Linked DNA regions of Homo sapiens: all the other regions are linked to region 1. The links are contacts of gene promoters, found by promoter capture Hi-C in human tissues and cell types (Jung and others, 2019). All regions are on one chromosome and are shown on one strand. The core of a region is centred on a gene start or on the middle of the fragment in contact, and the rest is flanking DNA. Distances in the headings are between cores, read along the strand shown. Region 1 holds the start of HMGN2 (high mobility group nucleosomal binding domain 2). Region 2 overlaps CEP85 (centrosomal protein 85). Region 3 holds the start of LOC105376888 (a long non-coding RNA gene). Region 4 overlaps CEP85 (centrosomal protein 85). Region 5 overlaps CEP85 (centrosomal protein 85). Region 6 overlaps UBXN11 (UBX domain protein 11). Region 7 has its middle 64 kb from the start of ARID1A.

Region 1 (4,134 bases), core at 730-3,229:
CTGCAAGCTGTTTCCCTAGCAGCTCCCTCTAGGGGAGAGGTGAAATCTTGCAAGTTGTAGCAAGAGCACACAGGAAACCCCTAACTTTCCTATACCCCACCCGCCTCTTCCCCTTTCTGTCCCGGGATACCTGGCGGCAAGAGACTTCTTGGCTATTGTCCATGCTCCCAGAATCAAGCATAAATGCCAGACACGGCGATTGAGAAGCCAATCAGTGAACCCTTTGGCAAAGCCCCCATCCACACCTGGCACTCCCCTCTACCAATCCCTGGCACAGGGTTCCTGGAGAGCAGGTGCTGTACATTTTACAGCTTTACAATGGGGCTGTTGACAGCCATAATTAGGGAGGCATGAATTATGCGGCTATAATGCAGAGCCCTACAATTAAGGCGGGAATGAGGGGCTGGAGGCAGCAAACGGAATCTGCCCTATGAGCGTGGCTGTTGAGTCCTGTCTCCTGGGTCTGACTTTCCGTAATATGATTGGGGTACAGTAGAGGTGATTAATGGGGCTGGCATCTCTCTTTGGCCTGAGGTTCTGTATTCTGGGAAAGGTACACAGGGTGGAGTAGGGAGAAGCTGCCCCAGGAGGCGATGTAGTGGTGGAAAGAAGAGGCAGAGAGGTCGTCGTCGTCGCCCAGCAGCAAGGGCTGCAAAATAGTAGAACTCGTGGTTGCTTTGGACAGGTGTGATTTGTGCAAGCCAGGTTCAACCCTTGCCTCAAGAAATCAGATGGGACCAATTTAGTGTCCTTCCACCTGTGAGCCAAGCCCCCATTTGAGGACATCTATCGTATTCTTGTGTGCTGGGTCTCAAATAGAATTTTTAAAGATTCTTAGATGTAAAACTTGTTTGCTAACTGCAACGGAAGAACACCTTCTTTTGCTGCTGCAATTGCCTACCCTCCCTCAGGTGCACTTGGCTAGCTCCAAGACCCTGGCTTTGGACTAGGGGGCACCGGAAGAGCCCTTTTGCCATCACACCACCTGTTCCTCTACTTGTTTCCTAATCCCCGGGCGCTTTCCTCCACCCTCCTTTCCTCGCGCAAGTGAAAGGCAGCCAGCTTGACAGTGTGGAAGGAGGGATTTCGCCAGCTGCGGCTGCAGTGCCCAGGCTTGGTGGCCGCGTCGGGTTGGGCAGCTGGGCAAAATGTCTCCGAGAGGGGTAGAGTGTAGGGGGAAGTGAGTGCTGGTAGACCTCGACGGCCGCTCTCCACCATACTGTGGCGGGGTCTGGAGGTTTGGGAATACAGGGACCTTAAGGGAGCCACCCGAGAGGAGTTGGGGGTGGGGGCTTCGATAGCATTTGGGGAGGCGGCTGCGCAACGGGTGCTGAAAGGACAGCTCCTACCTGACCCACGGCACCCAAAAGGCACCTCTGCATGGAAAGTCTCCCCCTGAAACCCCTAGCCCACCTCGAGTGGGACCGTCTTTCAGGTGAGGTGCACGAAAGGCTTCTCCGAAGTGGCAGCTCGGAAGGATGCACGTCCGGCTGCGCCAAGCTGGTTTCCCCGCCTTTTTCCCACTTTGGCGTCAGCCTGGGCTCTGGGAACTGCAGCCTGTGCCTCCAGCCGCGCGCTTCCTCCTGCTTCCAGAGGAGCAGGGCAGTGCAGCCAGGCCTCGCAAACCCCTCTTCTGGGGCCCCCAGCGGGAGCAGGAAGGAAAGCCGCTGAGATGCGCCGTGAGTGTCGCACGGCTTGGAGAAGTGGGTTGCTGGGTTGCATAAGGTGGAAGGAACTTGCTAGTTTGCAAAAGACAGCTCTTGGCGGGAGCCGGAACCCGGAGCCCGCCGACTCGCGCACCCCTCCTCATTTACTGCCTTCGACGCGCGCCACCCCGACTGCGCCCCCACCCCCTCGGCGCGCCGCCGTCTCCGCGCACTACCCCCCCCACACACCCCCCTCCTCACTCCCTCCAGAGGAGGTGAGTTTAAACCCCGCCCACGTGACCCCAGCTGGGCCAATGAACGGCGGCGGGAGGTGAAATCCGGTTCTAACCGGTCCGGGGCTCCCAGCGCTATAAAAACTTTATAAACCCCCCGGAGCCCGAGCAGTGTGAAGAAGAGGCGAGAACGACCCCCGGACCGACCAAAGCCCGCGCGCCGCTGCATCCCGCGTCCAGCACCTACGTCCCGCTGCCGTCGCCGCCGCCACCATGCCCAAGAGAAAGGTACGTGGCGCGAGGGCCCCAGGCGCCGGGCCACCACTGCCGCCACCGCCGCCGCCGCCTCCCTGGTGCAGGGAGCGAGAATCGGCGCCGAGCAGGAGCCAGCGCAGCCTCCCCGCGCGGGGGCTGGAGACGGTGTCGGGCAGCTCGGGGCTAACCCTGAGCGGCTCGGCTGCCCGCGGGCGCCAGAGGCCATATTGGAGGAGCGGCGGCCGCGGCGGGAGGAGCCATGTTGGCGGCTGTTTATCCCGCTCTCCTCGGGCTCGCCGCCCCCGCCCCGTGCCCCCTCCCCCATCGCGAGGGCCCCTTCCCTCCCCTCCCTGCGGGCGGGCAATTCAAACCCGAAAGGGCGGGAAGGCGGCGCTCGGGGTTGGCGGGCGGGGGAAAGCGCTGCCGCCAAAAAACCGCCGCCGTGAGGGGCGGGGCTTGTGCGGTATGGCCCCGCCCCCTCGCCCACGTTCCCCGCGCACGAGACGCGCGCTGTCGCCGCCCACGAGTTCCCCGGGCTGCGCGCGCCTCCCTCTCCCGCCCTCGACGGCTGCCATAGCAACGGCGCTGGGCTCCGCCTCCGGAGGGGGTTTGTTTGCGCCATCTGCAGCTGTTGCTCCTGCCTGTCGCGGTGGTGCGGGCTCCGCTGCCCTCCCCGGCTGCGCTCCGGTCCAGCCCTCGCTTCTCGGGGTCGGCGAGCCGGAGCTCCTGCGCGCGCTTCGTTCTTATACGAACGTCGGGCTCACTCATTTATGTCCTAGAAAAGTTGTGTGGACGACTGCTTTAATTTTCATTTTTAGCACTCTAAAGTTTGGGAAGTAATTAAGAACCACCTCAAAATCTGCAGTTTTTTGTTCTTGTTTCTTATAGGCTGAAGGGGATGCTAAGGGAGATAAAGCAAAGGTGAAGGACGAAGTAAGTCATTCTCTCTTCAAGGGTCAAAGCCTTGGACTAGCAGAGGCCACTGGACTCGGTGATTAACCGTAACCTGTGTCCTGAATTTACACTCCTATAATCTAGAGCAAATTGATACCAAACTTTCAAAGCGACTTACCTGTCCTATTTCTAACTTTCTCGTTGTCTTTAATAGCCACAGAGAAGATCCGCGAGGTTGTCTGCTGTAAGTGTATGCTTTTGAATTTTCGTGCTTGTCCCTGAAACTAAAAAACATCAAAAAACAATTCCCTTTGCTTCCATGAATTATGGTTAGTGCCTGGTTTTGAATCATTGCCTCTACTTGGGACTCTTGCCCCTTTGGGTTTTGCTGGTTCTGAAATTCTGATGCCTGTAGCCAAAGTGGGACATTTGAGTGGGCTTCTGGAAATCCAACATTCTAGAAGAAAGCCAACCACAAAAACTTTTGAGGAGGAGGAGAAACTTCTCTACCCTTGGTACTTTTGGTTGGTTGTGGGTGGTTTTCTTCAGTCCATTGTACTGATGTTCACTTTTTCCTCTCTTCCTGCCAAAAAAAGAAACCTGCTCCTCCAAAGCCAGAGCCCAAGCCTAAAAAGGCCCCTGCAAAGGTAAGTGCTAACATTGGAACTGATCATTTTCACAGAATGAGGACTGTCCTTAGTGCCTTAACTTAATTAGCATAATGGTGCCTCCATTAATGGAGGTTATAAACTGTGTGGATAGCTTACCTCGTCCGTGTCATTCATAACGTTGGTTTCCTGATCAAGAATTCTGTTGTTAGTTTATAGGAAAATCTGCATTTAAATATTAAATACCCCAGGGTTTAAACTAATTTATTCTTCTGTTACTTAGGAAATTCTAAGTACTAAAGATTATAGCAAATTACAGATAATTTAGCCTAGTTTTGATCAGTTGTTCTTGTCAAATGGGTGAGGGTTTGTGTTTTATCTTGAGTAAACAATCCTACCTTGTGCAGAACTTTGCAGACCATACCTTGGTAATACGAAATGGGGAGAAACAGTTCTATTTTTTCCCCTTTTTCAGAAGGGAGAGAAGGTACCCAAAGG
Region 2 (4,134 bases), core at 239-2,738, 230 kb before region 1:
CTACTGTAAACCTTTATTTTCTCATCCATAAAATGAGGATAATAGTAACTGCCTCATAGGGTTGATGTGAACATGAAACATGAGACATGATACTTAAAAAGTGTTGAGCACAGTGTTTGATAGGTAGTAAGTGCAGAATGCATGTTAAATTTGTTGAATGAGTGACTGTTTCTGTAGTTTAAAGGGCTTTGAAGATGGAAACCAATCCTGTTGGGTGCTTTTTTTTTTTTTCCCCTCTGTCTGCCTCCATTCACTCCCTTTCTAAGCTTTATAACTGGTGTGTTACTTCTTGTACATTCACTTCTCTCATTTTTATCCCAGGAAATTTCTGTCTCCTTCAGTTGTCCCAAAAATTTCCACCAGTAGCTCATCTAATTCTTAAGTCAAGAATGATTTATTTTGTATTGTTTTACTCCTTACGGGGTTTCTTTCTTTCTGTTTTTCTTTTTTGAGATATTTGTTGTCAATGAGGGTCAGACTCTGAAATATTTGAAGGGATTTATTCTGAGCCAAATATGGGTGACCAGTGGCCCCTGACACAGCCCTCAGGTGATCCTGATAACGTGTGCCCTGGTTTTAAACATTTTAGGTAGACATGAGACATCAGTCAAATACATGTAAGATTTACATTGATCTGGAAGGGTAAGACAACTCTTAGTGGGTGGGGGCTTCCAGGTCATAGGTAGATTTCAAAATTTTCTGATTGGCAGTTGGTTGAAAGTTGTTATCAATAGAAAGGAATGTCTGGGTTAAGGTATCCTGGGGATCAACATTTTATTGTACAGATGAAGCCTCCAAATAGTAGGCTTTAGAGAGAATAGATTATAAATGTTTCTTACAGACATCTGTGTTAATGTTAATGCTTTTCCTAAATTCCAGAAGGGAGGAGGGTATAATGAGGGGTGTAGGACTCCACCACCACTACCACCATCATGGCCTTAACAGGTTTTTCAGCTTAACTTTGGAATGCCATTGGCCAAGGGGAGGGATCCATTCAGGTGGTTGGGGATGTCTTAGAATTTTTTTTTTGGCTTATATCACATAACATAAAATTTAATTTTATGTGTGTGCAATTCAGAGGTTTTTAATATATTGGCAAGGTTGTGCAGTCAGTCACCACTATCTAATCTCAGAACATTTTGATCACCCTGAAAAGAAACCCGGTATCCATTAGCAGTCCCTTCCTATTCTCCTACCCTCCCTCCTCTCAGTCCTTTGCAATCACTAATCTGTGTCTCTATGGATTTGCCTATTCTGACATTTCATATAAATAGGATCAAGCCTTTTGTTTGGCTTCTTTGACTTTGCATGTCTTCAGTGTTCATCCATGTTGTCACATGTATCAGTACTTCCTTTTATTGCTGAATAATACTCTGTTTTTTGGATATACCACATTTTATGTATCCATTCATTAGCTCATGGACGTTTGTGTTGTTTCCACTTTTTGGCTATTGTAAATAATGCTGCTACGAACATTCTTATTGAAGCTTTTGTGTAAACCTGTGTTTTCATTTCTCTTGGGTGTATACTTCAGTGTGGAATTGCTGAGTCATAGGGTAACTCGGAGTTCTCCTTCTGTCACCGTATTTTCAACTTGTCTGAATTTAGAAACACCTTAGAATCCAGTGCGCCTACCATTTTGTTATCCTTTAAAGAAAGGAGTGAAGAAAAGGATTTTGATATTGACAAGAAAGGAAATCACTAGTAAGGAGGTAATCTAATCATTCTATGTCATCATTTAACTCACTGAATCATACTTGCCATAAACTAAAGCTTTTATTACTGAACAAAGCTTCCCTCACCCAGTATGTGAAGAACTGGAATTGTGGAGGATGATACCCTTTCTATTGTAGATGCAGTGAATTAATAAGGGTTTGGGTTGTTATGTACTTTAGTGACCTCTATAGTATTCTCTTAGTAACAAGAGAATACTATAGAGGTCACTAAAGTACATTAGAGAAATAGTACCATATAGTCTTTTTTCTCCAGAGTGATAGAATTATGTTCTGTGAATTGTCCCAAACTCTTTTTTTTTTTTTTTTGAGACGGAGTCTTGCTCTGTCGCCCAGGCTGGAGTGCAATGGCGCGATCTTGGCTCACTGCAGCCTCCGCCTCCATGGTCCAAGCGATTCTCCTGCCTCAGCCTCCCAAGTAGCTGGGATTACAGGCGCCTGCCACCATGCCTGGCTAATTTTTGTATTTTTAGTAGAGACGGGGTTTCACCATGTTGGCTGGTCTCGAACTCCTGACCTCAGGTGATCCGCCTGCCTCGGCCTCCCAAAGTGCTGGGATTACAGGCGTGAGCCACTGAGCCCGGCCGAATTGTCCCAAACTCTTTTGGGGCTTTTATAAATTTAGAGTTTCTGAGTTGATACTCCTTGATCTTCCATGGGCTGTACAGTGCTACTTTTGTTGATGTAAATTGCCAAGTAATAACAGCACTTAGTATGTGTCAGGAACTGTTGTAAGTTAATTATAAGTGAATTAACATGAATTAGGTTGTGTTGTTATCCTCATTTTTATATGAAGAAAATGAGGAACAGAGATACTAAGAAATTTGCCCAAGGTTACACAGCTAATAAATTGATAACTTAATGTTTAGTGGGTTCAAGTGTATTTGTTTAGACTTCAAATCCACTTCTGCTGAATTCTCAGCACCTACCCCTAGTGTACTGTAAATATAAATATTTTAAGGAGTGAGAACATGGGACGAGAACTTCACGTTCCTAGCTCAGGATTGGAGTTCTACTTATGAGCAAGAATTCTTTCCCATCTTTTTACATCGTATGACTGACTTTAATTACTGGAAGAATTGAGGAATTTGTTTTGTGTTAATCATAATTGATGCTGTAATACTTCACTGTTGGTTTAGTTCTTTAGTTCTTTATCCACCTCGTCCTGTCATCAGGTCCCCATGGCTAAGAAGATTCATGGTAAAGTTTGTTAATTAAAAGTAATATTTTTAAATTTTATAAAAATCAGAAGGGTTCTAGGACCGTATGGAATCTGTATTGGTAATCTCTGGTTCTAGGTTTTCTATACTGGATTTGGGAAGAGAAGTAGAGTGGAGTATTGGGATTTACTTTGTCTTAAAAATATCCTTAGAAGTAAAACATGTAAAAACATATTTACTCCTAAATATCCTTAGGAATATAACATTTAGAATACTGGAATATTCTTTTTTATTTTTTTTGAGATGGAGTCTTGCTCAGTTGCCCAGGCTGGAGTGCAGTGGTGTGATCTTGGCTCACTGAAACCTCTGCCTCCCGGGTTCAAGCAATCCTTGTGCCTCAGCCTCCCAAGTAGCTGGGACTACAGATGTGTGCCACCATGCCCGGCCAATTTTTGTGTTTTTAGTAGAAATGGGGTTTCCCCATGTTGGTCAGGCTGGTCTCGAACTCCTGACCTCAGTTGATCTGCCCGCCTTGGCCTCCCAAAGTGCTGGGATTACAGGTGTGAGCCACTGTGCCTGGCCAAATACTTGAATATTCTATATGGTTTTGACAGTTTCAGTTGAATGGGAACTGAGTTGCGGGGAATTAAAGATACTTCAGAGAACTGACTGGTTATTCCTTCATTCTACAGTTGGCTTAAATAACTGTGATTGATGGCCATGCAGGAGAAATATCCAACTGAGGGGATCTCTCACGTCACTTCACCGAGTGAGTAGTCAGAAGTTTTCTGGGTTAAATTCTGACCTTTGTTCTGTTTTTTCATATTCCTTAAGGTAAATATTGAACAAACAAGCATTCACTGAAATGCTGGTGCTAAAAGAATAAAAATAACATGGGGCTTCATTGAATATAAAAACAGGTCTCTGAGGGAACAAGTATTTATCTCTTGTGCTATGTGGCTTTCAACAGGACCACGTGGTTGGGAGAGGACGACATATAAAGGATTGGAACAGAATGACTTTGGAACATAGTTCCATTTGAAATCAGAAAAACACAGCATAAATTACTGTGTTCTATGTTGTCTTTGTCCTCTGGGTGGGTCAGTCATCTGCTAGCCCACAAAAATAGGAATTCTGCTTGGATGCCAACAGATTCCGTTGCATTGTTACTAGAAACTCAGGAATTTATCTTCAGAATGGATTAACAAGATTTTGAAACTTCAGTAGATATATTAAATATA
Region 3 (4,134 bases), core at 466-2,965, 220 kb after region 1:
TCTAGACATTTGTCTCAAAAGTAGAGCTAGCTCTCAAACTATATGCTCCTTGCTTTGAATACTGAGTAGGGCATAAGCCTTTAACTTTCCTTTCCTCATCTCCTACTCCCACTCACTTCCAAGAAGAACACCTCTGTAGAGTTTTCATCTGTCTTTGTAGTACTCCATTCCTGTAAATTCCTTCTCCACGTTTTTGCTATTTCATTTAGTTTGGAAAATGGCAGTGTGGAATATGTTTGGTATAACCTTAATCCTGGCCAGCGTCTCTGATCCCTAAAAAAAAAAGTATACATACATATATATATATATAAAAATATATATATATTTAGAGAGAGAGCGAGTGTGTGTTTTCTGGGGTTAAAAACACAGAAGTAAAAACCTTAAACACAATAGAAAACAAACCTCCCTTATTATCCAGGTCCCCTGCATATTTTTAGTTGTTTAGAAAATGTTTCTCCTGGGTCGGGCATGGTGGCTCATGCCTGTAATCCCAGCACTTTGGGAGGCCAAGGCGGGTGGATTACCTGAGGTTGGGAGTTCGAGACCAGCCTGACCAACATGGAGAAACCCCCGTCTCTACTAAAAATACAAAAATTAGCCTGGCGGGGTGGCGCATGCCTGTAATCCCAGCTACTTGGGAGGCTGAGGCAGGAGAATCGCTTGAACCTGGGAAGTGGAGGTTGTCGTGATCCAAGATCGGGCCATTGCACTCCAGCCTGGGCAACAAGAGTGAAACTCCATTTCAAAAAACAGAAAAAAAGAAAATGTTTCTCCTGTTGTTCCTGTTAAATATTTCTCATATTTTGGCATCACACACAAAAATATGATGCCAGAGGTTTGTGTGTATGTGTGTGCATGTGTGTGGTGGAGGTGAGGGGGAGACTTGGTCCTATAGCACGGTGTGCAATGGTGAAGAACCTACTAAATTAATTAATCTTCACATTAGCAGATAACTGAGAATATGAATCACTCACAGGCAGTCAAAAGGTGATGTCAGTGAACAGTTATGGCACAGCATGACTGCTCCTGTTTGACACTGCATTTAGTCCTAGCACTACTGCTATTGCAGGGCTCTCCTATGAATTTTATTGTGGAATTTCAGAAATTTCTACTGCCAGTTGGGTGCAGTGGCTCATGCCTGTAATCCCAGCACTTTGGGAGGCCAAGGTGGGAGGATCATTTGAGCCCAGGAATTCAGACCAGCCTGGGCAATATGGCGAACCCTGTCTCTACGAAAAAATTTTTAAAAATTACCTGGATGTGGTGGCACATGCCTGTAGTCCCAGCTATTAGGGAGGCTGAAGCAGGAAAACCACCTGAGTCCAGGGAGGTCAAGGCTGCAGTAAGCCATGGTCACACCACTGAACTCCAGCCTGGGCAACAGAGTGAGACCCTGTCTCAAAAAATAAATAAAATAAAGTAAAATAAAATTCTACTGCCAAGTAGTAGCTAAATGTAATTCCCCCCCCCCGACCCCCCACCCAAGACAGAGTCTTGCCCTCGGGTGCAGTGGCACTATCTCAGCTCACTGCAACCTCTGCCTCCTGGGTTCAAGCAATTCTCCTGCCTCAGCCTCCCAAGCAGCTGGGATTACAGGCACCCGCCACCACGCCCAGCTAATTTTTCCATTTTTAGTAGACAGGGCTTCACCATGTTGACTGAGCTGGTCTCAAACTCCTGACCTCAGGTGATCCGCCCGCCTTGGCCTCCCGAAGTGCTGAGATTACAGGTGTAAGCCACAGTGCCCGGCGCTAAATGTAATTTCTATAGCATTAATAAGTATTCCAGGAGGTAGTTAAATCAAGGAACAAGGTACTTAATGAAGTTTTAAAATACAGCTTTGGAATGGTTATTATTAGCAATCATCATACTGTTAATTTCTAGTTGAAAGAATAACAGGCTCACAAAAATTTCTAAGTCTTAGGAGAAGACCGATTTTGGTGGAAAGTGGGTCAGAAGAGCATGTGCAACTCAAGGATTGCTGAGGATGAACAAGTGCATAGGGTAAAGTTGCTTCATCATGAAAGGTGAGTATTTAGGGTAGAGACTGCGGTCTTGGTCTACATTACTTGGTTGAGATTATAAAATGGTTTCTGTCGACCCTCTCTACAATCAGTGACAAATTGTACTAATAATGATGGACTCCTAAAAACCCTCAGTAGCCAATCAGGTTGCAACCTCCTTCACCTTGAAGCTTTTTCCTAGAGAATATTTTCTTTCCGAAGGTTGTGTGGTACTTCCACTCTCCTTGATTCCACCTTGGAAACACTGGCTACTACTTCATAAAGAACTGGAAGGTAGGTGTGGTGGAGTCAACTAGAATCCCTCTTTTCTAAACCCTTTGGACTTCCAACTTTATCTGGGCTAAAGGGGCAAACACGTTAGCCACAAACTCGGGTTTTTGTTAGACAGAGTATCCATATTTTATTTATTTATTTATTTATTTAATTTTTTGAGACGGAGTCTCGCTCTGTCACCCAGGCTCGAGTGCAGCGGCGTGATCTCGGCTCACTGCAAGCTCTGCCTCCCGGGTTCACGCCATTCTCCAGCCTCAGCCTCCTGAGTAGCTAGGACTACAGGCGGCCGCCACCACGCCCAGCTAATTAGAGTATCCATATTTTTAAGTAGCTGTGAGTGATTAGGAGAAAAATACTTCAATGAGCTCTTGGGCTTTGTTCTGAAGTCGAAAGGGCCTAGTAAAAATGTGTAATCTCCATCCTGGTTTTGGTGTTTGGGGCAAAAATAGTGCCTAATGTTGCACAACACTGTGTGCTCTTGAGTGTAGTTTGCGGATGAGTTATATTAATGAATACACATTGTGATAGAGGTGTGTGTGTGTGTTTCCGTGCTTTTTTTTTTTTTTTTTTTTTTGGAGACGGAGTCTCATTCTGTTGCCCAGGCTGGAGTGCAGTGGCACAATCTCGGCTCACTGCAACCTCTGCCTCCTGAGTTCAAGCGATTTTCTCCTGCCTCAGCCTCCTGAGTAGCTGGGATTATAGGTGCCTGCCACCATGCGCAGCTAATTTTTGTGCTTTTAGTAGAGACGGTGTTTCACTATGTTGGCCAGGCTGGTCTCGAACTCCTGACCTCAAGTGATCTGCCAGCCTCGGCCTCCCGTATTGTTTTTAAATGGCTTGTTGGATAGGCTTGATGAAGTGTGCTGGATTATTTCCTCCATTGTCTCCTGTTCTCTCCCTCCCACAGCAAGACTAGAAGAGCAACAACACACTTCTATACAGGTCTCTAGTAGTCTCTTTGGAGGGGTAGGCCAATAAGAACCAACCTGCTGGTCCCTACCCCCAACCCCTCTGGTGACTTCTGAATCCAGTTTCAATATTGTTAAATTTCAGGGAAGAAAGTGATAATGTGGAAAAGTGCCAAAACTCAGTCTGATTTTTCCTGGCAGCTTTCCCTTGGTGTCATTGGTAAGTTCCGCATTTCACTGGAGTGGAGTGCCACACTGCTACTATGACTATAGTAGTCACTCCCACGCCTGACTTTTTTGTTTGGTCCATTTTATCTTTAGGAATAGGCATTTTCTGTAGGGATAGATGGGTTTAAACCCTATTAAAGCTAGTCAGAATGTTTTTCATTAGGGGCCACTCAATTCCTGTCTTATACCTAATAGATTTCTTTGGATTTTCTTTGATTCTTATACAAAAACACCCAGTATCATCATGCTGGAGGATTCTCTTAAGGTGGTTGCTTTGCAGAGAACAGACAGCACATTTGCTTTTTTAGCCACCTATCCTATTTCATAGGACTGCATGCCTGCCTCCCTCCATTTTGTCTGTGCTTACACTGTTTTTTCCTTCTCTTTCCAACTCTTCTACAGAACTTGTGTTGGAATAAAAGACTCCATTCCAGATCCATTCCAGAGTTGCTGTGAGAAACTTCCCCACTGACTCTTTTTCCTAACTCAGTAAAATGGCAGTGTAAGAAAGCTTTATGCAGGCAAGGGCTGAAAGAAATCTCCACCTAGAATACAGTGTTTGATTTTTCCTTCTGATTTTCTTGTCAACTCTCAAAAACTTCCCTTATAATCATTTTATATGTGTGAAATTTCCCTAGGTTGGTTTTAAAGAACAAAACAAAACAAAAGCAACCTACATTGGTTTAACATGGGAAATCCTA
Region 4 (4,134 bases), core at 1,127-3,626, 220 kb before region 1:
ACATGAACTTTTGGGGGACAGACACTTTCAAACCACAGCAGGGGGTGTGGGCTCAAAACTGAATTTGGTGAATCTAGAGAGAGTGGTGCTATGGATGGAGACTGGAAGGAGGTATTGCAAAGTTCATGGTAGCAACCCCTCATGTGCTACAACCTCACAGTCTTCTGTTTTGTAATTACACCGTGGGAGCAGTGACCCTTGGTAAGAACTGATAACTATGGTGCTGTTATGGAGGATTTAAAACATATTGCTTATGGTTAAGCACGGTGGCTCATCCCTGTAATCCCAGCACTTTGGGAGGCCGAGACAGGTGAATCACTTGAGGTTAGGAATTCAAGACCAGCCTGGCCAACATGGTGAAACCCCGTCTACTAAAAATACAAAAATTAGCCAGGCATGGTGGCGGGCTCCTGTAATCCCAGCTACTCGAGAGGCTGAGGCAGAAGAGTCGCTTGAACCCAGGAGGCAGAGGTTGCGGTGAGCCAAGATCGTGCCACTGCACTCCAGCCTGGACAACAGAGTGAGTGAGACCCCATCTCAAAAAAGAAAAAATTGGGCCGGGGGCAGTGGCTCACACCTGTAATCCCAGCACTTTGGGAGGCCGAGGCGGGCGGATCACCTGAGGTTGGGAGTTCAAGACCAGCCTGACCAGCATGGAGAAGCCCTGTCTCTACTAAAAATACAAAATTAGCCGGGCGTGGTGGAGCATGCCTTTAATCCCAGCTACTTGGGAGGCTGAGGCAGGAGAATCGCTTGAACCCAGGAGGAGGAGGTTGTGGTGAGCCAAGATCGCGCCATTGCACTCCAGCCTGGGCAACAAGAGTGAAATTCCGGCTCCAAAAAATAAAACAAAAAATTGTATTGCTTACTAGTCTTTGAAGTCTTTATCACTAGCAGTCTGCCTTAACCTTGTGTACTAGTCCTATATTTAAGTTGTGAGACATCAGAAACTGGGTCCTTTAACTGAGAAATTTCTTTCTTGGTCCTGAGAGACTAATGCATGTTATCAGAACTTATTCAGGTTTTTGTTTTGTTACGTGTGTGTGTGTTTTTTTAGTGTGGCCTTTTATATATCCCCAAGATCATCTTCAGTATAGCAAATTAGATACTATGCATGTAATATAAGGCTTGCACGTCTTTTTTTAAAGTATTTATTCCTCCTGTCTAACCGAAATGTTTTACCCTTTGATCAGCATCTCTCGATTCCCCCTGCTCCCAGCTTCTGGTAACCACAATTATTCTCTCTGTTTCTATGTGTCGAGGTTTTTTTTAGCTTCCACATATAAGTAAGAACGTGCAGTATTTGTCATTTTGTGCCTGGCTTATTTCTCTTAGTGTCCTCCAGTTTCATCCATGTTGTTGCAAGTGACACAATTGACATCTTTTATAAGGCTGGTATTCCGTTGTGTAATATACTGCATTTTCCTTATCTGTTCGTCTGTTGATTCTATAACTTGGCTATTGTGAATAATTACTCAGTAAACATGGGATTGTAGATATCTCTTGGACATACATATTTCATATCGTTTGGATATATACCCAGAAGTGGATTGCTGGATCATATGGTAACTATTTTTAGTTTTTTGAGGAGCTACATACTCCATTGTTTTCCACAGTGGCTGTGTTACATTCCCCCCAACTGTGTACTAGAGTTCCCTTTTCTCTGCATCCTCTCCAAACTTGTTATCTTTCATCTTTTTTTTTTTTTTTTTGAGATGGAGTCTCACTCTGTCGCCCAGGCTGGAGTGCAGTAGTGCGATCCTGGCTCATTGCAACCTCCACCTCCTGGGTTCAAGCGATCCTCCTGCCTCAGCCTCCCGAATAGCTGGGACTACAGGCGCGTGCCACCATACCTGGCTAATATTTTGTATTTTTAGTAGAGACAGGGTTTCACCGTGTTAGCCAGGATGGTTTCGATCTCCTGACCTCATGATCCCCCCTCCTCAGCCTCCCAAAGTGCTGGGGATTACAGGCATGAGCCACTGCGCCCGGCCTCATCTTTTTCATCATAGCCATTCTGACAGGTGTGAGGTGGCTTGCCCATATTTTTAAAGAGTTGCTTAAGGCCGGGCATGGTGGCTCACACCTGTAATCCTAGCACTTTGGGAGGCTGAGGCAGGTGGATCACTTGAGCCCATGAGTTCGAGACCAGTCTGGGCAACATGGCGAAACCCCATCTCTCCTAAAAATACAAAAACTGAGGTGGGAAGATCACCTGAGCCTGGGGAGGTCGAGGCTGCAGTGAACTGTGATCACGCCACTGTGCTCCAGCCTGGGTGACAGAGTGAGACCCCATTTCAAAAAAAAAAGTTGTTTAATGAGAAGGTCGTAGCTGATCTATACTTACATAATTCTGGGAACAATTATAGTATTTGTTGTTGTTATCTGAGTGTTCTCTGTGTTGGTTGCTGGGGAGAAAAAGAAACAAGTTGGTAGTCGCTCTTCTCCGTGGTAGATATGCTTGATTTGGGAACGAGTACTGAATATAGTTGAAAAGAGAAGAAATTGGTATTCCTTATTTCCTTATTCAGTTTTCTGCCTGCTGAAAGCAATAAGTATGTTACCTCACATTCCTCCCTTATTGTTTGCTTGCAGTAGTCCCCCTCAGAGTAGTACTTGAAAGTTGGAAATAGGTAGAAATGTGAACCTTGTATAGTAGGGCTAATCAAGGGTTGTCTCCCAAGACCAGGCAGGAGCCAAAGGAAACACAAATTCAGTCTGAAGGAAAAGTTAAAAAAAAAAAAACACAGTTGGGTACACACAAGGGGGCAAGTGAAAGGCAAAATATAAAATAGAGGATTTCAGTGTGTACCCAATTGAGAGTGCTCACTGTGCTAGAGTGAAACCTGAGAGTTACTAAGAATAACTTCACATATCCAGGCAGTCAGGTTTGGGGTATGGGAGAGAGAACAGAATCCTGCCTCAGATGCCATACTCCCTGTCCTGCATACTGAGCAAGACTGTCTAGTTCGCTTCATTCTTCAGATAGTTTGGACTCGTTGCTCACCTTCCTGGGGGAGCTTTTGGAGGTCGCAGAAGATTCTGGTGACTCTTGGAAAGGATATTTTTATTAGATTTGATTATAGCTGAGAGTTGTCCAGCTTCCAGAAGAGTAGGACCTAACTCATTTTCCTTAAGTAAGTAATTTGTTTTAAAGTTTAAATTTTTTAAAAAACTTTTTAAAAGTTTTTCAGCTTTGTCTGTTGACTGACAAGATTTTTTTTATTCCAGTACAAAGGACTAAGTTAAAAGTGAAGTCATTATTGCCTTTTGTTAGTTTACCTTGTGAATGGCATTTGAGATCCTGGAACATACATCTCCCAGTTTGGTTGCCGTTTCTTTCTGCCTGATACTTTTGATGATGGTGCTCTCTCTGCTTGGTCTCAGGACAGGCCGAGAGCTTCTGGCATAGCATTCAAACTCAAGAAAGCTTGCTACTTCAATTTTTACTTATGGAAGACTATTCTCTCCCCAGATTTTTGCAGCTCAAGTGGCAGTCCTCCTTTCCAGCCCATCAAAAGCCACGTAACCATTCCAACAGCCCATGTGATGCCTTCTACTTTAGGGACCTCTCCTGCCAAGCCAAATTCTACACCTGTTGGACCCTCTTCCTCTAAACTCCCTTTGTCAGGGTTGGCTGAAAGTGTGGGAATGACAAGAAATGGAGACCTCGGTGCAATGAAACATTCTCCAGGCCTATCTAGAGATCTCATGTATTTCTCTGGTGCTACTGGAGAAAATGGAATTGAGCAGTCCTGGTTTCCAGCAGTGGGCCATGAAAGACAAGAAGAGGCGAGGAAGTTTGATATTCCTAGCATGGAATCTACCCTCAATCAGTCGGCAATGATGGAGACACTTTATTCAGATCCTCACCACCGAGTCCGCTTCCACAACCCAAGAACCAGCACAAGTAAGGAGTTGTACAGAGTGTTGCCTGAGGCCAAGAAGGCACCGGGCAGCGGGGCAGTGTTTGAGCGGAATGGACCACATTCTAATAGCAGTGGGGTCCTCCCTTTGGGACTCCAGCCTGCTCCCGGGCTCTCCAAGCCTCTGCCCTCTCAGGTGTGGCAGCCGAGTCCTGACACTTGGCATCCCCGAGAGCAATCTTGTGAACTCAGCACTTGTCGGCAGCAG
Region 5 (4,134 bases), core at 581-3,080, 200 kb before region 1:
AGACTGTGTGGTTCAACCCTAGCCAATAGGGGAACGACATAGCAGTAGGGACTACCTGCGTCAGAAATAAGAACTCCTTCCCCTCCCCTGTCCAGTTGTGTTCTCACCATTGTTCCATCTGCGAGGAGCACCCTTTCTGCAGAAAGTAAAAATTGCCTTGCTGAGGAAATTAAATATAGGTTTGAGTGCTATTTCTTTGTGACACCGAGGAACAAGCATTTTGCATTTATAACACTTGGCTTATTTGACCTAAACATGGGATCCTGTCTCTCAGCTTAAGGATTCTGAGTTGAAGAGCACAGAGCTGCAGGAGAAAGTGACTGAGCTGGAGAGTTTGCTGGAGGAGACCCAGGCAATCTGCAGAGAGAAGGAGATTCAACTGGAAAGCCTGAGGCAGAGAGAAGCAGAATTCTCCTCCGCTGGACATAGGTAAATAACCCTGTGGGACTGAGAGGAGTGGAGAGTTAAGTTTTTTGTCATAGCCATCCTGCTCACTTACCTGTGTGACTTTGGGTGATTTGGGAAAATCATTTTACTTATCTGAGCTTTGTTTTCTTTGGACTGTGAATAATAGGAAAGCTGCTTATGGGAAGCGGCTTTTTTTTTTTTTTTTTTTTTTGAGACGGAGTCTTGCTCTGTCGCCCAGGCTGGAGTGCAGTGGTGCAATCTTGGCTCACTGCAAGCTCCGCCTCCCAGGTTCACACCATTCTCCTGCCTCAGCCTCCTGAGTAGCTGGGACTACAGGCGCCCGCCACTGCGCCTGGCTAATCTTTTTTGTATTTTTAGTAGAGACGGGGTTTCACCGTGGTCTCGATCTCCTGACCTCGTGATCCACCCTCCTTGGCCTCCCAAAGTGCTGGGATTACAGGTGTGAGCCACCGCGCCCGGCCAGGAAGCGGCTTTTATATCTTTGGCATGGAGTATGGATGCAGTGGGGGCTTATCTTCATAGCCTTTGTAAGGATCTAACCCAGTGCCTGGCACATAATTCTTAGTATGTATGTGTTGAATAAATGAAAGCACTTTGTAAACTGGGAAATGAGGTGTCTGTATACTTTCAAAAGTGGGTACTGGTGATAAGAACTGAGAGTTATCCACAGTTCGAGCTGTGTAGGCTAAAGGCTACCAGGAGCCTTTCTCCTCAGCCCTAGGGATTGTTCTCCATTGCCATGACAGGTTCTGAGAACAAAACAAGATGCCATAATGTACTCTCAGGATGTCTTGGGAGCCTTCTCCATATTAATAGCAGTTTCTGAAAATAATGGTGTGTTTCAACAGCCTCTTGGACCAAATCCAGTTTCTAATGGGATAGATTGGATTTCTCATCCCATATTTAACCACAGTGTCCCTGTTGTTTATCTCAGCAGATGGGCTTTGCTATAAGTAATTGTAGGGACCCACTGGAGGAAACCATTGGTTAGAGTCAGAAGTGGGGTTAGAGGACAAAGTTGGCTTTGCCCCAGACTGTGTGTGCCAAGAAAACAGCTTTTGTATTTTCCAAACTTTCTACAATGTACATGTATGACTTACAATCTAAATACATGTGATAAATATGTATTTTTTAAATATCAAAACAAAATACACAAGAGCCTTGGGCAGGTAGAGAATTGGTGTCACATTGTATAGATTCTGGCCCTTAGGGAAGAGAATTAACATACACTGAGCAGCTTTTGTGTGGCACCCCATATATTACAGCAGACCCAAGTATTATCCCCAGCTACTGCTTGGACTAAGTGTCTTGCCTCAAAATGTGCAATAAGTAGCAGAACCAAGAATCAAAGCCACTTGTGTCTAACTTCAGAGTTCTTGAAGAGGCCACTGTCTTTCAGCCTGCAAGATAAACAGTCTGTGGAGGAGACCAGTGGAGAAGGTCCAGAAGTGGAAATGGAGTCCTGGCAGAAGCGATACGATTCGCTCCAAAAGGTGACTGAGGGTGTCCAGGCTGTAACGGAGGGTAGGCTGGGAGGAAAGAGAAGATTGTGTATTAGGAGGGATACGTGAATTCTTGGCTTTGGGCTATCTAGGATTTGTTACCAAGAGCTTTTCTTTCTTTTCGGAGAAGTCACCCTGCATAGTAATTTGTATTTAGATAGTCATCCTTGTAACAGGCAAACTTCACTCATTTAGAATATAGGCAAAAGTAAGAGGAGGGGTGATATGCCTCTGAATATCTAGATTAGATGACCCAAAATGGTGCAGTAAAGTTTGGTGCACTTTATTCATGGCTCAGGCCCATACAGAAACCCTTGAATTGAACAGAGTTCTAACCAGTGAGGTGCCCTGGTTTCTTAATTCAGCAAAGACGAGAGAGCCAGGGGCCGGCTGGTGAAACTGACTGCAGGTTAGTAAAAAAAAAAGAAGACCCATAAATGATTCAAAGAAACCAGGCCTATTTAGGGTCCCTTCTTGGATAATCAGTACGACCAGAGCTGTAAATAACAACAACCATCATAGTGCTAGAAATGGCAAGCTTCATTAGACTGAATTTTTAGCCATGTCCTTGTACCAAAGAACAAGAGTTTGCACTGGCTGTTTATAAAATTGATTCCACTGGCCTGCAGTTATTAGGGTGAGAGTTCCCTTTCCCCCAGTAGTGGTTATGTGTTCACACTACATTCCTGTATAAACCTTTGTGATTGGAGCACAACTGTGAAGCTAGTTAGCCAGGATTAGGAGTCTGGTTTATATTCCTATAGGTAGAGTTCACTAATCTTTATCCTGGTCTTACTCTTAATGGTCTAATAGCCAGACCACATGTCCTAGTGCAGCCCCCTTGCCCTCTGTCCTCACCGTCAGCCTTGTGCTCGCAGCCTTCCTTGATAACTTTGCCTTTCAGATTGTGGAGAAGCAGCAGCAGAAGATGGATCAGTTGCGCTCACAAGTACAGGTGAGCAGGAATCCTTGGGACATGGTGGGCAGAACTTAATGATGGAATCTCTAGAATTTAGCCAATATTTATTTTGTTCTCTGCCATGCAGGTTGCTCAGTGTTAGGGATACAAAAAGAATGAGACCCAGTCAGTGCTTTTGAGCCTTGCTGAGAGGACACAAATATAGTAGGGAGTTTCAGCACAGTACTGTGAGAGCAGTCCCCACAGTATCCTGGGGGAGTGCAGGAGAGTCAGTGGGAGGAAGGGAGGTAAAAGAGAGGTTTCTGGAGATCCTGAACCTACAAGGATGAGGAGTTAGCCAGGCAAACAAGAGGAGCTGGATAGGATGTGTTGGATTCCAGATAGGAGGAACAGCATGAGTGGGAACATGGAGACATGAAACAGCATAGTTTGAATGTGGTGCTGCAAGCAGTTTGATACTGCTGACGTATCCACTTTAAGATGGTAAATGGAGACCTGGGCATTCCAGGCTATGGAAGGGCCTTATCTATCAACTAAGTTAGCTTTTATTCTTTATGTAGGTGGTGGGCATCTATTACAGCATTTTTTTTTTTTTTTTTTTTTTTTTTTGGAGACAGAGTCTCGCTCTTGTCGCCCAGGCTGGAGTGCAATGGCGCAATCTCGGCTCACTGTAACCTCTGCCTCCCAGGTTCAAGCAATTCTCCTGCCTCAGCCTCCCGAGTAGCTGGTATTACGGGTGCCCACCATCACGCCCGGCTAATTTTTGTATTTTTTGTAGAGACGGGGTTTCACCACGTTGGCCAGACTGGTCTCGAACTCCTGACCTCAGGTGATCTGCCCGCCTCGGCCTCCCAAAGTGCTGGGATTACAGGCGTGAGCCATCATGCCCAGCCTATTACAGCATGTAATTGGGATGTGATGTGGTCAGGTTTGCAACTCAGGCTCAAGTGTGGAAGATTGGCATCCTGGAGAGAAGAAAGGTCCAGGGGGACTGTTGGAGAAATTCTCGTGAGAGGTGATGAGGGAACCTGGCATAAGGCAGCATAGCAGCGAGGAGATGTGAGGGGACAGATTTAAGTGACTTTAGGAGGTAACATCAAGCGGAATCAGTGACTGACAAGATGTAGGGGTTGAAGAATAGGGAAGAATCAAATATGACTCCAGGTTTCTATTTTGGGCCAGAGTGGGAGTGTCTTTAACTGGGTTCTCCAAGAAATTCTGGGTAAAGCAGGTTCACTCAGCGTCTCTTTGGACTCTAAAAGTTTTCACACCAAAACACCCGAA
Region 6 (4,134 bases), core at 1,143-3,642, 180 kb before region 1:
CTCTGGATCGAGGCCTTCTGGGTTCAAATCCCAGTTCCTCCCTTCTATCTGTGTGACCTTAGGTCATTTAATGCTTGTGCTGCAGCATTCTCTTCTAGAATGGATGACAGTAGTATCTGCCTCCTAGGATGGCTGTAAGGCTCCAAGAAGTAACCATGTTAAGAGCCAGCTTGGAACACGCACCCTGTCCATGTTTGCTACTGTGCCCAACTCCACCTTGCACACATGGTCCTTACGCCAACCCTGAGGCTTAAGGCAGGGGTAATTATTTTTATTTATTTGAGATGGAGTTTCACTCTTGTTGTCCAGGCTGGAGTGCAATGGTACAATCTTGGATCACCGCAACCTTGCCTCCTGGGTTCAAGCGATTCTCCTATCTCAGCCTCCTGAGTAGCTGGGATTACAGGCATGAGCCACCACACCCGGCTAATTTTTGTATTTTTAGTAGAGATGGGGTTTCATCATATTGGTCAGGCTGGTCTCGAACTCCTGACCTCAGGTGATCCGCCCGCCTTGGCATCCCAAAGTGCTGGGATTACAGGTGTGAGCCACCACGCCAGGCTGAGGCAGGGGTTATTTAGTTCCATTTTACACATGAGGAAACAGGCCCACAGAGATGAAAAATGACTCGTCCCAAGCCACTTGGTGAGAGGAGGAACTGGGAAGGGAGCCGGGGCTGACTCTCAAGTCTGTTTCCCCCACCCATCTGCACCATCAGGAGAGGGAGGTCAGAAGAGGGACAGATGGCTCTCAGGGAGGATGTAGGGACAGCTGCTGGCCAGAACAGATATGGGACAGACCTTAGGTTGTGCAACTATTTCTGGGTCACAGACCCCTTTGAGAAGCTGACAAAGCTCTGGCCTCCTCTTCTGAAACACGTGTGGCGCATACAGCTGTGTTCTGGCTTCAGGGGAGAATACGGAGCGGTGGGGACAGCCGTGACAGACAACAGAGCAGAAAGGTGGAGGGCAGGTAGATGCTGGCTGGGTACAGACCAGGGGCCTGTTCTGTCATCTTTGATGGGACCTGGCCCCCAAGTAAGTCATCTGTTTGGGTGTGCCCTACAACACACCAATAACTTTTGGGGCCTCAGAGAGGCTGTTTTTCAACAGGACAAGCAGGCTGCGGCAGGATGTGGGTCAGGGCTCTGGGGACCTAATTCCTTTCCTCTCAGTGGTGCAGTGGCTGTACCAGGGAGGTGCAGATGTGTTTCCTGTTGCTTTTGCAGCAGGTGAAATGGTAGGCCCCAGCTGGCCTTCTCCTCTCCCCTATATTTCCTACCATTGAAGGGGCTATACCTGCCCCCAGCCCCTCCGGGGGCTCCCCACATAGTCCCTGAGATTCCCAGGAAAAACTCGCCTAACAGAATGATACCAAGACACTTTTCTTTTAACAACTACCTTAAGGACAAATAGGCAAACCTAAAAACAATAGCAGAATAGATCATCTCATACAATGCCTGCCTCAACCCTTTTTTTTTTTTTTCCGAGAAAGGGTCTCCCTCTGTCACCCAAGCTGGAGTATAGCGGCACAGTCATGATACTGCAACCGTGACCTCCCGGGTTCAACTTATCCTCCCACCTCAGCCTCCCAAGTAGCTTGGACCACAGGCAGGCATCACCACACCCTGCTAATTAATTTAAAAAAAAATTGTAGAGATGGGGTCTCGCTGTGTTACCAGGGCTCTGTCTTCTTTATAGATGGGGAAAGTGAGGCCCAGAAAGGTCAGATGACATGGCCTGATCAGACCAGACAGAGCCAGGAAGAGCACCAAATACACCAACTCCTAATTCAATGCTCCTGCCGCCTCCCAGGGCCGGGGGTTTTTCAGGCTGATGAACATGGGTGGTTGACATGGGATGGGGTGAGACCAGGGAGGATGCCAAGAAACGACGAAGGGGAAGAGAGAAGCTTGCCAAGAAAATGGCCCTGGCTTAAAGAAGTAAAAGCAGGTGGCCCAGGCAGATGCTGGATATGATAGAGTGGAGATGAGACCAGGGGCCAGGAAGAAGGAACCACAGCTCTGGGCAAACCAGCACTGAGAGAATGAGGTGGGAAGAGCTACCACAGCAGGGCCTTGTGAAGCCAGTGAGCCCCCACCACCCCACCAGGGTTCAACTGAGGCCTGACCCGTGGATGGAGAGAGGTGCAGCTGGGGAGTCACACAGCAGGAGTAAGGTCAGAGGGCAAGTCCTAGGTCTGCCCTGAGCTAGCAGCAGAACTCAAATGGAAAGGCACTTCCTCTTTGAGCCACAGCCATCCTTTCTGTGCAATGGGGAGATGGTAAGAACCCTGTACTGCCTGCAAGATCCAGCTGGTGAACCTGTCTGTAAATGACAGCCCTGTGCCAAGCGCCAGGAGGCAGGCATCACCATTTCTGTTTTACAGATAAGGAAATTGGGCCTTATGAGCTGTCACGCCCCAGATCATGCAGCTTGCAGGGCCCAAGTGACTCAGCCTCAGTGCTCAGTGATCACATAGGCTGCCTCTCAATATTGGTTCTTGAGAGGCTGCTTACTGGGGTCCCTTTTCCAGGGAGAGTGGCAATGCTGGGAGATCACCTCTGAGGCCTCATCCAACTTTGAGAGCCCACGAGTGTATTAAAATGAGAAGGGAGCTCAAGTCCAAGCTCTTTGTCCCAACTCCCAAGACCCTTACTTAGCACCCAGCCAACCCTCAACATGCCCCTCGCCTTGCGCTCTGGTGGGCACTGGAGGGCACTTCCGAGCTCTGTAACCCTGGGCCTCTATGGGCCTCAGCTTCCTCTTCTGTACAATGAGGACGATAAAAGTTTCCACACTTCACAGGGCTGCTGTGAGGCTTGGAGGAAGCGTTTGGCAGATGGTGGCTGTTGTTGTCCCTAGCACCGCCTACTCATCGCTGGGCTCAAGCTGTGCCCACTCACCCCTACCTCCTCCAAGAAGCCTTGCTAGGAGCCACCCCCAACCTGCCTTGAGGCTGCATGCCTGGAGCCCTTGCACCTACTCCCTTGGCCCTCGTCACAGGCCGCTGCTTTCTGCTTGCTTGTTTGCCTTCCAGCCATGCTGGGCACCCCTTGAGCTCAGGAGCATTGAGCCCTGGGCCTGGCCCAGAGTGGCTGGGCCACTAAAAGCAGGGTTGGATCCTGCTTTCCAGAAATGTCTGAGCACCCGTGCTCTGCTAGGCCCTGCCCATCATGGCGATGCCCACGCCCAGGGTCCTGCCATCCTCAGGCTCAGACTCAAGTGAAGAAGACGGGGCGGCAAATGGCGACAATGGCATGTGTAAGTATCACTGTGGGGGCTGTGGAGCCCAGAAGAGGGCCAGACCCTACCATGCTCAGTGGAGAGGTGGCAGCCCCTCACTGCACAAGTGCCCAGGGCACCCCGGCAGCTCACGCGGTGCCGCCCTCCATGTGCCTGCCCTTGACCCTCAGGCAAAGACGGCTGCAACAGGAAGTGGAACCACTATTACCACACACCTGCAAGCCAGGCCCCGCTCTGGGGACTTTACTGCAGTCACTCTGCTCTTCAGAGGAGCCAGTGCAGGAAAGGAGGCCCTGCAGGTCTGGTCCCCGCCAGAACACTCAACCAGCCTGTGGACTGGCAGGATCTGAACTCAGGCCTGCCGGGTCCCACCTGCAGCTCTCTCTGGCCCCTGCCATTGAGCTACGCACCACCCTGTCCCCACCTCATCATGTGCAGATGACTGTTCCAATGTGCTCTGATCATCCAAGCCTGGGCACACGGGCATCACAGCCAATCACATGCAGCTACACACACCCTTGCCCATGTGCCAAGCACTGGGACATGCATGACAACAGCTAGGTGACAGTGGCTGTCACAGTTTATTACCACATCCATTCAGTGGCCCTAGGAGCCCGTCAGCACGACTGAGGAGGAAATGAACTCAGAGGGGGTCAGCGATCTGCTGATCTGGGGTCTGACCCGACCTGAACCCTGCCTCAGCCAGAGCTTTTAGCCCCTTCCCTCAAGCAGAGCCCTCCCCACAGAGCAGCACAGCCCACACAGGGCAGTCAGAGTTTGCTGGCGGAGGTTGGATTTGCCCTGAGCTTCAGAGGGGAGGGAAGCGGGCAAGGCGCTCTGTGGGGACAGAGCAGGAGCAAAGGCTGGAGGCAGAAGTGCAGGTGGGGAG
Region 7 (4,134 bases), core at 1,052-3,551, 160 kb after region 1:
ACTTGAGCTCAGGAGTTTGAGACCAGCCTGGGCAACATAGTGAGACCTCGTCTCAATTTATAAAAAAACAAGGCCTCCCTCGGTAAAGTCCCTCTTGGTTAAAAGTGGATTTGGCACTATGGGATGTTAACCACCATTCTGTTTGGATTAATCTGCCTTGCAATCTTTGCTGATGGCTGTGGGTGACAGGATTAGGCAAGTATAGAATCACGGGATATGGGGAGCTTTTTTTCTCCCCAAAGGGAGAAACTTGAGAGCTGATGGGACTGCTGGAAAAAAAAAAATCCCTTCCTGACTCACAAGCAGCCACCTGAGCTTTTGATTCAGTGTCGCTGCAATGGGTGGGCCTTTCTCTGGCCTCCCTAGCTCCTAGCCTTCCCCACCCCACTGCAGGCAATGCTTCTCTTTCTCTCTGACTCCTTTCCCTTTCCTGTCTTTTCTGTACTCAGGGCAACTGTCTATTCTTCCTTCTTGCCCAGAGACCACATGTTGAAATTCCTGGTTGGAGGTCATTCCACCCCATACTGAGTGGATCAAAGATGACAGGGCCCAACCGGAGGCAAGTTTGAGCTTTGCCAGTTAAATATTGGCCACTAAGGGGAATGGCTAATGTCTATGTTTTGTGACACGTATTTTGCTCTGGTTGGAATGGGAAAGGTTAATTTGGTTCCCCCATGCAGCTAGTTGGGTGGCATCTTGCAAAATTGAGAGGCTTTTGCCTGTGGTTCCGTGAAATGGAAAACGATGATTTTCTTTCTTTCTTTCTTTCTTTTTGAGACAGAGGCTCACTCTGTTGCCCAGGCTGCAGTGCAGTGGCGCGATCTTGGCTCACGACAACCTCCACCTTCCTCATTCAAGCAATTCTCCTGCCTCAGCCTCCCGACTAGCTGGGACTACAGGCATGCGCCACCATGCCTGGCTAATTTTTGTATTTTTAGTAGAGACCAGGTTTCACTAAGTTGGCCAGGCTGGCCTGGAACTCCTGACCTCATGATCCGCCCGCCTCAGCCTCCCAAAGTGCTGGGATTATAGGCGTGAGCCACTGTGCCCAGCGATGATTTTCCTTTGTATTGTGGCTAGGCCCCCAGGGCTATGGTGCAGCAAGCAGGGTTGCTAGGGCCACTCAGGAAAAGGGAACCCGGCTGGGAGTGGTGGTTCAGGTTGAAGTCAGGAGTTCAAGACCAGCCTGGCCAACATGTACAAAAGTACAAAAATTAGCTGGGCATAGTGGTATGCACCTGTAATCCCAGCTATCTGGGAGGCCGAGGCAGGAGAATCGCTTGAACCCAGGAGGTGGAGGTTGCAGTGAGCCAAGACCGTGCCACTGCACTCCAGCCTGGGTGACAGAGTGAGACTCCATCTCACAAAAGAGAAAAAAAAAAAGGAAAAGGGAACCCCAGAAACCTGGCATGCTGGCAAAAGGGTAAGAGTTTCTTACCAGTCAGACTTCTGGCCTCTCCTCTGTGCAAACTGGTTGTGGGAACAGTAAAAATCATTGTCTCCTCTGCAAATTTTTGATTAATTAAAGATTCATGAGGCTAGTCTTAAGCTATAGCAAATGTGGTGTGCTTTGTGCTATGAATTTATCTTTCTGTATTGTTCTGTCATAAAAAGAAGTACCTTAGGATAGAACATGGACTTAGGGCCTCATAAGCCTGCTGTTCAAGCCAGCCTGGCAAACTGGTCAGTTACAAACTTTGTTGGAGGTCCCTGAAACAAAAACTGGATAAAATTTCCCTCTTGTCTTGTTTTATGTCCTTGGGAGCTTGACCTTGTAACCACGTGGTGGTACTTTCTCTTGGTTTCCGCCATCCAGAGGACAGGAATTTTGGAGTTCATGTCATAGTTAGCTCTAAAAATTATCTTGAGTAGTTAAAAGCCTTTGCAAGCTCAAAATTGACTGCTCTAGGCTCCGTCTGGGAAGAGCAATGGAAACTGCCTAATGCTGTAGCTTAGTAGCTAAGGTTTTGTCTTTTCACAATGGCACCCTGGGTTAAATTTTCAGCCTAGAGAATAAATACTTTCTGGTTGATATTTGTGTGACCTTTGCCACTTGTTGATTTCCTTCCCCTCTATGTACAACTTCTGACTTCCCATCTTGAATTTTTTCTTCTCTGAACACCTGGGAGGTTACCTTTGGTAAAGTTCAAAAGCCAGAAATATAGGCTGTTTGGCCTAGCTAGAGTCTGATAATAAAAGATTTGGTTAAGTCAGCTTAATTAAAAGTAGATATCCAAACTATGCATATATTAAAAGGTTTTTATGCTTTTTTCACTTCTTGGATCTTATTTTTCTGAAGAAAAAAAGTTCTTTTATTCTCAGTCAACTGAATTGTTTTTAAAGTATACTCCTACAAACAAAATTTGGAGCATCTTCCTTTCTCCCTGGTTTCTCCAAACTTTGGAAACTGTTTGTAAGTATTCTTACTTATGGCAATACAGTTATTTGCATAAGTGCAATAAGAATCTGTCTTTTGGCTGGGCGTGGTGGCTCATGCCTGTAATCCCAGCACTTTGGGAGGCCGAGGCAGGTGGATCACCTGAGGTCAGGAGTTCAAGACCAGCCTGGCAAACATGGTGAAACCCCATCTCTACTAAAAATACAAAAATTAGCTGGGTGTGGTGGCAGGTGCCTGTAATCCCAGCTACTCTGGAGGCTGAGGCAGAAGAATCACTTGAACCCGGGAGGCAGAAGTTGCAGTGAGCTGAGATCGTGCCACTGCACTCCAGCCTGGGTGACAGAGCAAGACTATCTCAAAAAAAAAAAAAAAAAAAAATCTGTCTTTTGTAACAGAACACAGTTGGAGATACTCATTAATTTATCAAGGCTTTGACTGAAATGGCATGCTTTCAGGTACAAACAGACTGTTTTAAGGAATTGAAGTTGACTTATAGAGCTAATAAAATCCCCTTGGGGGAGCTGGGCGCGGTGGCTCATGCCTGTAATCCCAGCACTTTGGGAGGCCGACGTGGGCAGATCACGAGGTCAGGAAATCAAGACCATCTTGGCCAACATGGTGAAACCCCGTCTCTACTAAAAATACAAAAAATTAGCCAGGCGTGGTGGCAGGTGCCTGTAGTCCCAGCTACTCAGGAGGCTGAGGCAGGAGAATGGCGTGAACCCAGGAGGCGGAGCTTGCAGTGAGCCGAGATCGCGCCACTGCACTCCAGCCTGGGCGACAGAGTGAGACTCCGTCTCAAAAAACAAACAAACAAAAAACCCTTGGGGGCTAGGCACGGTGGCTCACGCCTGTAATCCCAACACTTTGGGAGGCTGAGGTGAGTGGATCACCTGAAGTCAGGAGTTCAAGACCAGGCTGGCCAACATTGTGAAATTCCACCTCTACTAAAAATACAAAAATTAGGCAGGCATGGTGGCGCATGCCTGTAATCCCAGCTACTAAGGAGGCTAAGGCAGGAGATTTGCTTGAACCTGGGCCACGGAGGTTGCAGTGAGCCGGGATCATGCCACTGCACTGCAGCCTGGGTGACAGAGCAAGACTCTGTCTCCAAAAAAAAAAACACTTGGGGAAAAAAATGTTCTCATACCTTGTCTACGCAGGCCCTGTGCAGGGTTACAGGGTTCCTGACCTATGATGATAAGTAAAGAATGTCACGTTCTGACAAGCCTAGGAACCCCATGTTATCTTTGGACCTCAAGAGGAGAGGAATTTACCTTACTCATATAGGTATTTGATGGCACAAACCCATGGCCGAGCTTAAGGCTTTAAAAAGTCTTATCTTGCCAGGCATGGTGGCTCATGCCTGTAATCCCAGCACTTTGGGAGGCTGAGGCAGGTGGATCATCTGAGGTCGGGAGATCGAGACCATCCTGGCTAACACGGTGAAACCCCGTTTCTACTAAAAATACAAAAAAATTAGCCAGGCATGGTGGCACATGCCTGTAATCCCAGCTACTTGAAAGGCTGAGACAGGAGAATCACTTGAACCCGGGAGGTGGAGGTTTAGGTGAGCCGAGATTGCACCATTGCACTCCAGCCTGGGCAACAAGAGCGAAACTCTGTCTCAAAAAAAAAAAAAAAAAAATTCTTACCTGAGATTTCTCATGGAACAAAGTTCCATCAAAGCCAATTTACAAATGAGCCTATATGGGAAATTATTATTCTTGCTGTGC

Evidence for each region. Contacts are between HindIII fragments. The study calls those that stand out against the background at their distance.
Region 2: a contact is called between a fragment that was not itself captured here and the fragment with the promoter of HMGN2 in region 1, in 8 of the 25 tissues and cell types used here (IMR-90 fibroblasts, adrenal gland, dorsolateral prefrontal cortex and 5 more).
Region 3: a contact is called between a fragment that was not itself captured here and the fragment with the promoter of HMGN2 in region 1, in 5 of the 25 tissues and cell types used here (dorsolateral prefrontal cortex, hippocampus, liver and 2 more).
Region 4: a fragment that was not itself captured here is called in contact with the fragment with the promoter of HMGN2 in region 1 in 3 of the 25 tissues and cell types used here (adrenal gland, heart right ventricle and neural progenitor cells).
Region 5: a contact is called between a fragment that was not itself captured here and the fragment with the promoter of HMGN2 in region 1, in 1 of the 25 tissues and cell types used here (H1 embryonic stem cells).
Region 6: a contact is called between a fragment that was not itself captured here and the fragment with the promoter of HMGN2 in region 1, in 2 of the 25 tissues and cell types used here (adrenal gland and ovary).
Region 7: a fragment that was not itself captured here is called in contact with the fragment with the promoter of HMGN2 in region 1 in 1 of the 25 tissues and cell types used here (H1 embryonic stem cells).

Annotation. Positions count from the first base shown.
Region 1 is chr1:26,470,461-26,474,594 of GRCh38, forward strand. It overlaps HMGN2 (high mobility group nucleosomal binding domain 2), which reads left to right and starts at 1,980. Exons shown (of 6, transcript NM_005517.4): 1 at 1,980-2,167; 2 at 3,023-3,067; 3 at 3,243-3,272; 4 at 3,625-3,675; 5 at 4,112-4,134. The coding sequence starts at 2,153. It overlaps DHDDS (dehydrodolichyl diphosphate synthase subunit), which reads left to right. Exons shown (of 9, transcript NM_205861.3): 9 at 1-846. RefSeq lists enhancers at 587-1,295, 1,296-2,005 and silencers at 1,375-1,790, 1,675-1,944, 2,205-2,494, 2,535-2,704. The HindIII fragment of the contact is 14,054 bases long and covers 1-4,134 here.
Region 2 is chr1:26,236,177-26,240,310 of GRCh38, forward strand. It overlaps CEP85 (centrosomal protein 85), which reads left to right. Exons shown (of 14, transcript NM_001319944.2): 2 at 3,586-3,662. The coding sequence starts at 3,608. Among named protein-coding and RNA genes, the nearest start is that of CEP85, 4.0 kb to the left of the region's middle. The HindIII fragment of the contact is 3,847 bases long and covers 1-3,412 here.
Region 3 is chr1:26,686,941-26,691,074 of GRCh38, forward strand. LOC105376888 (a long non-coding RNA gene) reads left to right here and starts at 2,242. Exons shown (of 3, transcript XR_001737950.2): 1 at 2,242-2,297; 2 at 3,351-3,425; 3 at 3,836-3,872. The HindIII fragment of the contact is 5,506 bases long and covers 1-4,134 here.
Region 4 is chr1:26,251,696-26,255,829 of GRCh38, forward strand. It overlaps CEP85 (centrosomal protein 85), which reads left to right. Exons shown (of 14, transcript NM_001319944.2): 4 at 3,476-4,134. Among named protein-coding and RNA genes, the nearest start is that of CEP85, 20 kb to the left of the region's middle. The HindIII fragment of the contact is 5,989 bases long and covers 1-4,134 here.
Region 5 is chr1:26,269,186-26,273,319 of GRCh38, forward strand. CEP85 (centrosomal protein 85) reads left to right here. Exons shown (of 14, transcript NM_001319944.2): 9 at 275-429; 10 at 1,829-1,922; 11 at 2,836-2,886. Among named protein-coding and RNA genes, the nearest start is that of SH3BGRL3, 8.8 kb to the right of the region's middle. The HindIII fragment of the contact is 3,763 bases long and covers 1-3,712 here.
Region 6 is chr1:26,286,436-26,290,569 of GRCh38, forward strand. All of the region lies in intron 8 of UBXN11 (UBX domain protein 11), which reads right to left. Among named protein-coding and RNA genes, the nearest start is that of SH3BGRL3, 8.4 kb to the left of the region's middle. RefSeq lists enhancers at 3,012-3,291, 3,302-3,441, 3,318-4,130, 4,131-4,134. The HindIII fragment of the contact is 5,264 bases long and covers 1-4,134 here.
Region 7 is chr1:26,630,347-26,634,480 of GRCh38, forward strand. No RefSeq gene overlaps it. Among named protein-coding and RNA genes, the nearest start is that of ARID1A, 64 kb to the right of the region's middle. The HindIII fragment of the contact is 4,824 bases long and covers 1-4,134 here.